Linked DNA regions of Homo sapiens: region 2 is linked to region 1. The links are contacts of gene promoters, found by promoter capture Hi-C in human tissues and cell types (Jung and others, 2019). All regions are on one chromosome and are shown on one strand. Each heading gives the region's core, a stretch centred on a gene start or on the middle of the fragment in contact. The rest is flanking DNA. Distances are from core to core; before and after follow the strand shown.

The links. Contacts are between HindIII fragments. The study calls those that stand out against the background at their distance.
Region 2: a contact is called between a fragment that was not itself captured here and the fragment with the promoter of HMGA2 in region 1, in 1 of the 25 tissues and cell types used here (thymus).

What each region holds. Positions count from the first base shown.
Region 1 is chr12:65,820,888-65,826,707 of GRCh38, forward strand. It overlaps HMGA2 (high mobility group AT-hook 2), which reads left to right and starts at 3,596. Exons shown (of 5, transcript NM_003483.6): 1 at 3,596-4,494. The coding sequence starts at 4,384. It also overlaps the pseudogene RPSAP52. RefSeq lists an enhancer at 4,716-5,323. The HindIII fragment of the contact is 9,780 bases long and covers 1-5,820 here.
Region 2 is chr12:65,426,776-65,432,403 of GRCh38, forward strand. The region is part of intron 5 of MSRB3 (methionine sulfoxide reductase B3); the gene reads left to right. Among named protein-coding and RNA genes, the nearest start is that of MSRB3, 150 kb to the left of the region's middle. RefSeq lists an enhancer at 3,758-4,957. The HindIII fragment of the contact is 5,234 bases long and covers 1,465-5,628 here.

The DNA of each region.
Region 1 (5,820 bases), core at 2,346-4,845:
TGATTAATCAGTTATAATCTGAGTAAATCCTTAAATAATTCTTTTTAATTTGTGAATGTATTAAGGTGTCAATATGTCATTGATAAAGTGCAATATGAGAACTTAAATCTCCTTGTCACAGATGCATCTTTCTTTCGTTAAAAGAATGCCAAAGGTATTTTAGTATATCTAACGCTTTTCTCATCCTGTATGGCATGTTCTTTAAAATAGTAAATTTATTATAGATACCTTCGTTGTTGTAATAAATTAATAACTACCAGAAGTCTATCATGAACAGAACACTACCTAGACAAGACTAGTGCAAAAAAAAAAAAAAAAAAAAAGAGGTGCTTGAAATGCTACCTGTCTTCTGGGAATATACATAAAATTTACATATAAGCATGTGTATTAATCTATTCTCACACTGCTATGAAGAAATACCCGAGATTGGGTAATTTAGAAAGGAAAGAGGTTTAATTGATTCACTGTTCTGCATGGCTGGGGAGGCCTCAGGAAACTTACAATCATGGCAGTAGGCAAAAAGGAAGCAAGACACCTTCTTCACAATGCAGTAGGAAGGAGAAGTATGAGAGCTGAGTAAAGAGGGGAGCCCATTATAAAACCATCAGATCTTGTGAACACTTACTCACTATCATGAGAATAGCATGGGAGAACCACCCCCATGACTCAATGACCTCCCACCGTGTCCCTCCCACCATACGTAGGGATTATGGGAACTACAATTCAAGATGAGTTTTGGGTGGAGACAGAGCCAAACCATAGCAGCATGTATACCACCAAAATAGAAAAGACACTACCTAGTATGTGATAACATAGTGCTAAGACACCTTGAATTCTAAGATACATCCCAAATTCCAAGATGTTAAAGATGAAAATACAATATATCTTAATAGTTTTCATACATATGTACTATATATCTAAGACAGAAATTTTACATGTGATATTCTCAATCCTAGTCTACTTATTTTTTAAATGATGTTATGGGTTTGCTAAATTAATTTTACCACCCACTAATGGGCTGACCTGATCTAAACACTAATCTACATCATGTGTCACAGATAATTAAAAACCTTGTTAACATATACAACCAAGGTGCTAATTGCTTAATTCTATGGTGGGTGCAGAAGAAGAAAAGACACAATTGAATATGGACAGAAACTACCTGGAAAGTTTTCAAATTGGAAAGAAGAATTGAGCCTTGAATACATGGGTAAAATATGGTGTGATAAAGAAGAGGCAGTGAATGGTTGAGAAACATAAACTGGGGGAAAAACCCTCAGATGTAAATGTAAAAAAAAAATTCCTTTCCTTAAAAATAAAATCTAACCATTTAACATTATTTTAAAAATATATGAGAATCCTTTTTGAATAGTAAAAGTCTCAATAATTTCAAAGATTACAACAAATTTTAATGTTTCACCTACAGAAAGTATACAGAATTCTGAAAAATTAAATACAGCTTCCAAAGAATGAAAATATATAAAATTGATTTAAGTAGAACTTGATACAATATTTGTTTTATACCCTTGTTATAAATTCAAAAGGGGTCAAATAGTCTAATAGCAAAATGATAGCAGCCTGAAAACAAGTGGCTGTATATTCCCCCACCCCCAATTTTTCTGTGCTTCTCTTATATTCAAAGATTAACGCAAAAACAAAATTTTGGAATCTGCTCTTTGCTGACCTCTGTACACGTTACCAAAAAAAAAAAAATCCTAGGATATAATGAGGTATACAGCACAAAACTGGCTGGCTGAACTCCTCAGTGACTCCCCTGCATTCACCTTCAGAATTTCTCTCTACTCCTGGCAAAAAGTGAGCAAACAACACAAACCCAAAAACCTATTTTGTACGTGTATGTGAAATGTGCACACCACAGTGCAAATATGTGATAGTTTTTAAATGTGCACGATTGGCAGTTAGGAAATGTCACTGTAATCGTTAGGTGAAACTTCAATCCCTTTGATGAAGATACCATCTTTGAGCCAAGCCCTGACAGAAAACCTTTGGTTCCTGTTAGACCCCTCCCTCCCCAGTCAGCTGCTGGGCTCCATCCGGAGGGATGGAGGCTCTCTCTCTCCATTACAGCTAAGCGTTCCCAGACCCAGCAGAAACCCTGGGTTCCTGCAGAGCACTCAACGTGCAGCAAAGTGTCCCAGCTCTGCAAAGGGCAGCTGGAAATGGATTTAAAATGGCAACGCGGACCAATCAGCGCTGCCGCGCCAAAGCAGACATTTACACGCGCCTCCTCCACATGCACAGCGGAACCTGGCGGTGCCTAACTCCTGCTTAGGGCTGCAAAGTAGGCGTTTTTATTCCACGGTGGTCTGTATCTTTGAAAAAAATAAATTCTTCCCCAGGTGAAAGTTTTTATTTTGGAATTAGTCCAAAATAATTTTGGGTGTGATGTGTGAAAATCTGAACCTAATTTTTTCAGAGTTTTGTGTTATTCAAGGATGAAAAGAGGTACATTTAAAAATGTACTCCACCTTTTAAAAACGGACTGTGGCCATTATGGTGTTCACATAACTCAGAACAGCCCAGGCCATAAAATTAGGACTTGGCAGAAAGAGAGTTCTCAGGCAGAAGGTTAAATCGAGGTAAACTGAAGGGAGAGTTGGGCAGTGAGTGCAATTGTGGTGTTAGGAATCTACAAGGTGCCCTTTACCCTGGGAACATCGGATTCCCGGGGAGGGGGATGGGGAGGGAACTTCGGTTGCCTCTAGTCTTTCCTGGAGAAAAAAGTTCAATGAAGAAGCTGGGGCGCTCTGTGTGTGCACATTGTTTGCATGTGTCTGCGAATGTGCATGTCTATCTGCGTGCCTGTGTGTATGTGTGTGTGTGTAAATGCGGGTGTTTACCAGCGCATGAATGCCCCCGTGTCCACGTGTATCTGCGTGCATGTGCTTACACGCGTGTTCGTGTGTATCTGCATGCATGTCTCCGTGTATGTGCGCGCTCGCCCGCCCGCAGGCTCTGTGGTGAGGGCATTCCGAGGCGGAGTACGGCTGTCAGGGGACCTCTCCCACTCCACTGCAGTCCCTTCCCACTCACAGTGAACCGGTGCGCTGCCTGAGGTGCAGCCTAGACGCTTCCTGCAAAGTGTTGGCTCGGCACGGTAGAGGCGCAGGTAAAGGCCAAGCCCCGAAACGTGGCTCCGGGACAGTCACGTTCCCGCGCCTTCCCAGGACAACTGCCCAGGGGTGACCTCGAGAGGCGGGTGGAGCTAGGCCCACGGCGAGCCAGCCCGGGATCCCCGGCCTGTCCCTTTAACCCCGCCGCCGGGCGGGAGCACGTGAGCGGGGCTCCGGGTGGCACCCGGGCGCCGCCGCCGCCGAGGCAGTTGTATTTCGAACGCTGCCTCTGGCTAGCAGCCAGGCGCCTTGGCTCGGCGGTCCGCCTGGCCTCCCTCCTCCTCATACTTTTCTTCCTGCGCAACCCCCTCCCCTTTATCCGCCCACGATTAGAGGTGGGCACTCCCCCCACCACCACCCCCTCCCCAAGCGCAAGCGCGTGCACGCACACACACCACACACACTCACACTCACACACACTCACACACACTCATCCCACTTGAATCTTGGGGCAGGAACTCAGAAAACTTCCAGCCCGGGCAGCGCGCGCTTGGTGCAAGACTCAGGAGCTAGCAGCCCGTCCCCCTCCGACTCTCCGGTGCCGCCGCTGCCTGCTCCCGCCACCCTAGGAGGCGCGGTGCCACCCACTACTCTGTCCTCTGCCTGTGCTCCGTGCCCGACCCTATCCCGGCGGAGTCTCCCCATCCTCCTTTGCTTTCCGACTGCCCAAGGCACTTTCAATCTCAATCTCTTCTCTCTCTCTCTCTCTCTCTCTCTCTCTCTCTCTCTCTCTCTCTCTCTCTCTCTCGCAGGGTGGGGGGAAGAGGAGGAGGAATTCTTTCCCCGCCTAACATTTCAAGGGACACAATTCACTCCAAGTCTCTTCCCTTTCCAAGCCGCTTCCGAAGTGCTCCCGGTGCCCGCAACTCCTGATCCCAACCCGCGAGAGGAGCCTCTGCGACCTCAAAGCCTCTCTTCCTTCTCCCTCGCTTCCCTCCTCCTCTTGCTACCTCCACCTCCACCGCCACCTCCACCTCCGGCACCCACCCACCGCCGCCGCCGCCACCGGCAGCGCCTCCTCCTCTCCTCCTCCTCCTCCCCTCTTCTCTTTTTGGCAGCCGCTGGACGTCCGGTGTTGATGGTGGCAGCGGCGGCAGCCTAAGCAACAGCAGCCCTCGCAGCCCGCCAGCTCGCGCTCGCCCCGCCGGCGTCCCCAGCCCTATCACCTCATCTCCCGAAAGGTGCTGGGCAGCTCCGGGGCGGTCGAGGCGAAGCGGCTGCAGCGGCGGTAGCGGCGGCGGGAGGCAGGATGAGCGCACGCGGTGAGGGCGCGGGGCAGCCGTCCACTTCAGCCCAGGGACAACCTGCCGCCCCAGCGCCTCAGAAGAGAGGACGCGGCCGCCCCAGGAAGCAGCAGCAAGTCAGTACGAGGGCGCGGTGGGGGCACCAGCCCACCCCGTCCCCACTGCCGGGGCCCAGACACGCGCGGGGCGGCCGGAGTGCGGGAGCCCAGTCGCCGCGGCCGTCGCACACTGCCCGCCGGCCGGCCGGGGGGAGCGGCGCAGACCCCACGAGTGCGCCGCGCGGCCCCGGGGCGCCAGCAACCCTCCGGGCGGGGAGGTGGGGAGCCGCGGCGGGCGGCCCGGGGAAGGCGGGAGGTGGGGTCGGGCGAAGCGCGTCCTCGGACTTTCGCTATTGTGCACGGCCCCGAGTGGCGCGGTGTCGCCCAGTGACTGGAAGCGACCGGGATCCGACAAACCCGGGCTCGCAGGCGCTTTCCGAGTTGCTTTTGCAACTGCCCGGGAGGAAGGAGGTGCCGGGGACCCGGGCGCTTCGGCCGATCTGGGCTGAAGGGGCTAGAGTCTTGGGGGCCGGAGGCTCTTTCTCCCGCCTCCCGGGGCTGCTCGCGGGTCGGGGGCTGGCGCGCCGCAGCCGCCCCCTTGGCGCCCTCCTCCAAGCTCTCGGTGGCCCAAGACTCGCGCCCTCCCGACAAAGAACGCATGGAGACCCGGCTGCCTGGTCCTTTTTGGGCTCTTTAAATATGCGGCGGCCGCCGGAGGGAGCCCGGGGCAGGGGCTACGGGGAGCCTGGTTCCCCGCAGGACGGGGTTAACTCGCCCAGCTAAGGGCGCGTTGAAAGGAGTGTCCAAGAGAGTGCAGGGTAGCCAGGGTCGCTTCCTTGTCAGGGGCCCGGTCCCCCTTTTGCCCCTGGATCTCGCGCCTCAGAGCTGCAGCCATTAAATGCTCTTCTCCAAGGCCAGTGGCCGGGGGTTGAGTAGGGGACGATCGAGGGGCGCCCGGGACCCTGCGGAGTGGAGGGTTTTGTCTGCGGATGCAACCAATTAAGCGTGCAGCCGGCGCTTGCAGAGCTGCGCTCAGCGCGCAGGGCTGGGGGTTTTGTTCGCTGTAATTTCCAAGCCGCGGCGGGCAGAGTTGGAGCGGGATATGTCTATTGAGAACATTTAAACTCCACTTTCTCGGGCTTTAAAACTTGCTCTCTGCTTAGTCTTAAATCGCTTCCTTCATGGCAAACACGCCGATTAGAAAATAATCCTAGAGTCCCAAAGTTGTCCGAGAGCAAGGTGGGGAAACTGAACAATGTTTGCTTGCCAGTGCATTTTAGAAAAATTGAGAGTTGTACCTTTTTGAAATCATCAAAGGAAACAAGCCGATCTAGAGGCCCCTGAGTTTTCCCGCTCTGCCCAAGCGACACTTTACACCGCATTTGAATCCTGTTTTACACCTCC
Region 2 (5,628 bases), core at 2,832-5,331, 390 kb before region 1:
AACTTGTCTTTGAGTTCATAGATTCTTTCTTCTGCTTAATCAGTTCTTTTTACTTCTCTATGGGTTTTAAATTTCATTCCTTGTATTTTTTGGCTCCCTAATTTCTTTTTTAAATATAATTTTAATCTTTGTTAAAGTTCTTGTTTTGGTCTTACAGTGTTTTCCTAATCTTATGGAATTATTTCTCTATATTGTATTGAAGTTTGCTGAGCTTTCCTAAAACAATTGTTTTGAATTCTTTGTCAGGCAGTTTGCATATCTCCATTTCTTTAGGGTCACCTACTGGGAAATTATTGTGTTCTCTTGGTAGTGGTATGTCTCCCTGGTTTTTTATGTTTCTTGTTGCCTTATGTTAATCTTTGCACATTTGGTGGAACAGTCACCTCTTCTAGATTTTATGGGCTAGCTTTGCTGTGGAAAGTCCTTCTTTTATTGGGGGCTTCCAGGGAACTTGCTGGGTGGGGGATGTAGCAATTCTAGCACCAGTGAAGGTGCAGCTGTGTATGTCTCTGCAGCTCTGTCAGCTGAGGTCATTGTTGATGGAGATTGCAGTGATACTCAGCAGCTGATACCACAGTGGCAGTGAGGGTTTCTGGGTTTTCTGTGTCCATAGTGGCAGTGGCAGTGAGGATTGTCCACAGTGGCAGTGAGGGTTTCTGAGTTTTCTATGATAATGGCAGCTAAGGGCCTCCTGATTTCTTTTTCTTTCACTGAGGAAGTTGTGGCTGAGGGGATTTCTTTTGGCACTGGATTTGGCTTGCAGGCCCACTCGCAGTTTGGTGTGGCACTAGTGTCTGATGAGTGGTGCCCATGGAGCAGCCATGGAGCTGAGGCCTGAAGCACAGGCACAAAAGGAAGGAATATGGCTCTGGGCTCTGGGGTGTAATGGCACTAGTGTCCAGTGTGCAGGCACTCTCACTGCCACACTGATAACAGTATGTAAAGCTCAGATTCTTGTAAAGTAGCCGGGGAGTCAAAAACTAGAGCACAAATGTGTGTAGTTACAGTGGTTTTGGAGTCAGAGCAGGGCCTAGCTCACTGTGGTGGCTGAGCTGGTGCCTGGAGTGCAGCCATGCACAGCAAGAGCTTAACTCTAGGTTCTGGAGTACAAATTAGCTTGCTAGTAAGCTCCAGTGTCTGAAATGCTCCAGTGTCTGAAATGTGGACAAACCCAGTGCAGCCACAGGACCCAGGTCTAGAGTGTGAGGACTCAAGAGGTGTCCAGAGTTGAGGCACTTAGGGGATTTGGAGAGTTGGTGGCTTCTTTCCCAAAGCAGCTCAACAGTGGCCACTTCTTGGGTTGGTGAGGTGTGTGTAGCTGTGTCTTCCTCTCTGGGGTTCCCTGTGAAGAATAATGGTTTGTTATTTCAGTGGCAAAAGATATTGTTGTCATCTGCAGAGCAGGCTGCTGAGGACCATGGTGGTTTTCACCACATGGCTGATTCAGACAACCTCTGCTATTCTTCTTTGTTCTGGGCAATATCCTGGCATCTCAGGTATACTGATCTTACCAGTTATTTATTTTCTGTGTGTATATTTTTTTTTTGCTCCACTGTATTGTTGCAAAATCTTAAATAGGATCTTGGGGACTCTCTGGGGTTATTTTGTTTGGAGATAGCTGTCTATGTTTATTTTGGGGGTGCTAAAGGGAGAAAGCTGATATCTCCTACTCTGCCATTGTGGTTACATCCCTATTATTCATTTATTCTTTTAAACACCAATTCAACACTTGCTCTAATGGACTGGGCATTGAGTATATATGGTACAGCATAGACTCAGGCCCTTCCTTAATTAAGTGAGTTTTTAAAATAAGTTTACAAACAGGAGTACGACATTATTGGCACTAGCAAATCTAATCATGTAACCCCTCTGCCCAGAGTTTTTCCAAGGGCTTCTAATTGACTATGGGATGAAATATCCCTCCCTTTGCATGCAATCAAAGGCTTTCATGACCTAGACCTTTCTCTGTCTATGTTCAATTTCTCTACTTCCCACCCCCATCTTTAGCAATTGGTATTTTAGAAAACGCTAAACTAATTCCCCAGAATGCATTGTGCTGTTATTGTTGTTTCGTGCCCCTACATATGGGGTGTCCTCCCTTGGAATATCCTTTTTTTCCCCATAAGATAGACATGGGGTTTCTTTCTACTAGAATTATATGCCCCTTGTAAAACAGCTCTCTTATGATTACTTACCAGTCTCTATTGTCTTTATAATTTTTTTGAGGGTGGGACTGTATGGTTGCCTCTTGTTTTACCCTTGGCCTCTAGTATAGTTTTAAACACATCCATTAAGTCAATATCTACTGCCTTAGGGACAGGAGATACAGTGGCAAACAGACAGGGCTCCTGCTATTAAGGAGTTACTAAACAAGGAAACAAATAAATGGGATGATATTTGATAGGAGCTATGCAGGAAATAGAAAGGATCTATTTAACCCTTTGATATTGTTGATCCCATGATAGGGAATGATGGTGGTAGGTGGAGGGAGACGCTCATTTAAATAGGCATTTCAGGGAAAGCCTACTGAGGAGGTGATATCTGAGCCAAGGTCGAAAGTATGAGAATACAACCACACAAAGAGCTTGGGGGAGTGTTCAAAGCAGAAGAGAAAGCAAGTATTTGATATGTTACGGCAACCAAGAGAAGACCAGTGTGGTTGAAGCACAAGGGGAAGAGTGGTTTGAGATGTGTTTGGAGAGGTAGGCAGGAGTTGGATCATGCAGGTTTTTGTCCACCTTCAAATATTTCTTGAACTGAATGTGTCAAGCCTGAAATCAAATTCTGCATATTTTGTCCTTATCCTCCAGCATATCCTTAGGCTTCATTTCTCTCCAGCCATGTTCCCACTGGGCCCACTGCAATAAGAGTAAGAGTGTCATACATTTCTCTCCAGTTTTATTAGTGGGATTTTACCAGATCTGGAAATATTAAAGGAAGGAAATTGTTTTCAGTGTTTGGTCTTATGAGTAGGCCTTTAACAACAGCTATATCATAATGAATTCAGGATGATGTGAATGATGATTGCAGAGGAACTGGATATGCACAGTTCATACAGACCTCTAAGTAAAGCTTAGAGCTTGTTTCATTTGCTTCTGGTTTTTATCTCAGTATGATCCAGCAACCTAAAATAATGAAAGAAGAGCTCCATTTCCAGTGACCAGTTCAGTCCCTGCACTAGCAGAAAGTTAGTGTAGAATCCAATGCAAAGATCACATGTAAATTCTAGAAATTTTACTACATTTTTTTTTCAGAGATGACAATTGAATTGCCTGCTTTCCTTCCTTCCTTCTTTCTTTGTTCCTTCCTTCCTTCTTTCCTGAGCACTGAAGGATGTAAGTGCTGGTTTGAAGAATCTAAAAGGCTTCAGGGTAACAGTGAAGTGGACGACACATTCTTCTTCCAGCTGCTGCTGTTCACAACACTTCTGACAGTTAAAATACATCACACATTCTCTTGTCCTTTTAATGTAAACATTTACTGTTTTAAGTGGACTATAGAATCAAACCAAAATAGAAGGATGCAGACTGATATTTCAGAGGTGAAGCTAAGCACTAGACTAAATTAAATAAGAGTAATTTGCAATCTAACACATAGTTATAATACATATTGTACATTATACTCTGTTTGTCCCTGGGAAAGATTAAACAGAGGGCTTTCATTGCTTGCTGTATTTTTACAGCCTGTTACTAGAAAAGAATTTCATATAGAACAGGCAAAATTTTGAATTGGAATTAAGTTAAAAATAAATGGAAAAAGTAGTAAGGTCAGGGTAGCCTCCTTGGTGTTGATTTTCTCCTATGCTTAAGCATCATCTGAAAGTCAAGAAAATGATCGCATCTCTAGTTTTTGTTGTTTGTTAATTTCCTCAGGAAAAACTTGACCTCCTTCTTTCTTATTACGTTGGCATCTGTCTTAAGCCTTTGCCTTCAATTCTTATAGCTTCTTTCAAATTGTATTAAATTTGAAGACTAAGAACCTTCAAAATGACTCACATTTGAATCCTGGACCTACTCCTAAGCTGACCTGTTCTAGTTTTTAAAAATGGATGTGAAATTTTGCTTAGAATCCTAGAAGTTAAAAATGTGACATCCTACAGAATGCCACTTCATACAGGCAAGTCTGGTGCCCTTAAAGTTAGTTTTACCCTGAGAGGAAAACTTAGAAATGAATACAAGTTCAAGTTTGCTCAATTTCTTGTTTTGCTTAAAATTTGCCTACATAACACATAAATTCATCAAACTCCTTTCCTAGTGACAATACTTCATTAGATTACTTTAGTGAGTATTCAGGAGATTTTCATCTTATGAGTCATAAAATTCTTTTATTCCCCAAAGAATTTCTGGTGTCTGATTGGAATTTCACGTCTTTGTAGTTTTAGCTGGACTCTTTGAAGCAGTTACTTCCTAAATGACTGTATTCCTGAGGCCTGCATGTAATACCTGGGGAGCTGGGTCACAGGTTGACTCCTGTTTTTCAAGAAAATTGAAAAATCAATCTCTTTCATTGCTTTAGTCTTAGTAATTTTATTCAGAAATTTTCTTAAACTTTTTAACCTCCTCCTGTCATGACAGAGAGGTTTTCACTTGCTGCCTATACAGTTTCCAGCATTAATTTTTTTGTGCCTACTTAGGCCCGTTTCTGTCTATTTCTGTGAATACATCCCAGCGATTTAATGTTAGTATGTTTCTTGCCTTTCCTGTCAGGTTTTCATCACTCGTTTGGTATAAAGGAAAAGGGGATAGAATTACAAATATACTGGACCATGTAGCTATCGATGAGAAATGTCTTCAGATATCCTTTTACTTTTTTCTTCTTCTTCTTTTTTTAAAGTTCTTTTTGAAGGAGGTGAAAGTCAGGTTATAGTGGAAAGCCAGAACCATTGTGTGTTCCTATTTGAAAAATCCTGGGAAGTGAACATGATACTTTTTGACATGCGAGTTTCAGAAATTCTTAGTGATTATTATAATACACACTCCGCTTATGTGCAGAGCTTCATCTGCATGCACAAGTCTTTGTGTGTTTTAAAAGATAATGCCTAACTCTTCTGTTTATAAATGGCAGTAGCTGAGTATGCACAGAAGAGACTGAAGTCTAAGTCTGGATGTGCTATTTGGCTACATTCAAACAGCATGGGACAAACACAAAATGTAAGGCTAGTAGAATATTGACACTAACAAATTATTCGGAAGTTGGTTATTAGGAAATCTTTCACTGGACTTCAGTATCTTTGGTTTCTTTAAGAACAAATCTAAAATTTTACCCCAAAAGCTAGGTAGTTATATATTATTTGTATTATGGCTCCTTCAACACATAACTTTTTTAAACTTTTAAATCAATAAAAGAAGGGATTCTGTCTATAAAACACAAAGGAATACACCAAGTTAATGTTTTAGTTGATTAGTATATTATTTTGAGAGTAGAAAAAAATCAATGCAAAATTACTTGCTATTCACATATATGCAGAAAATGTAAGTCCTTGGAATGTAGCACACATTATCATTACATAATCTATATCCATATGCTGTTTATAACAAGCTGAAATGTTATACCCTTGAGAAAAGAACCAGATTCTGGCACAGGACTGTTTTGTGGCAAGGAAAGATGAATGGATTCCAAAATTTTAAA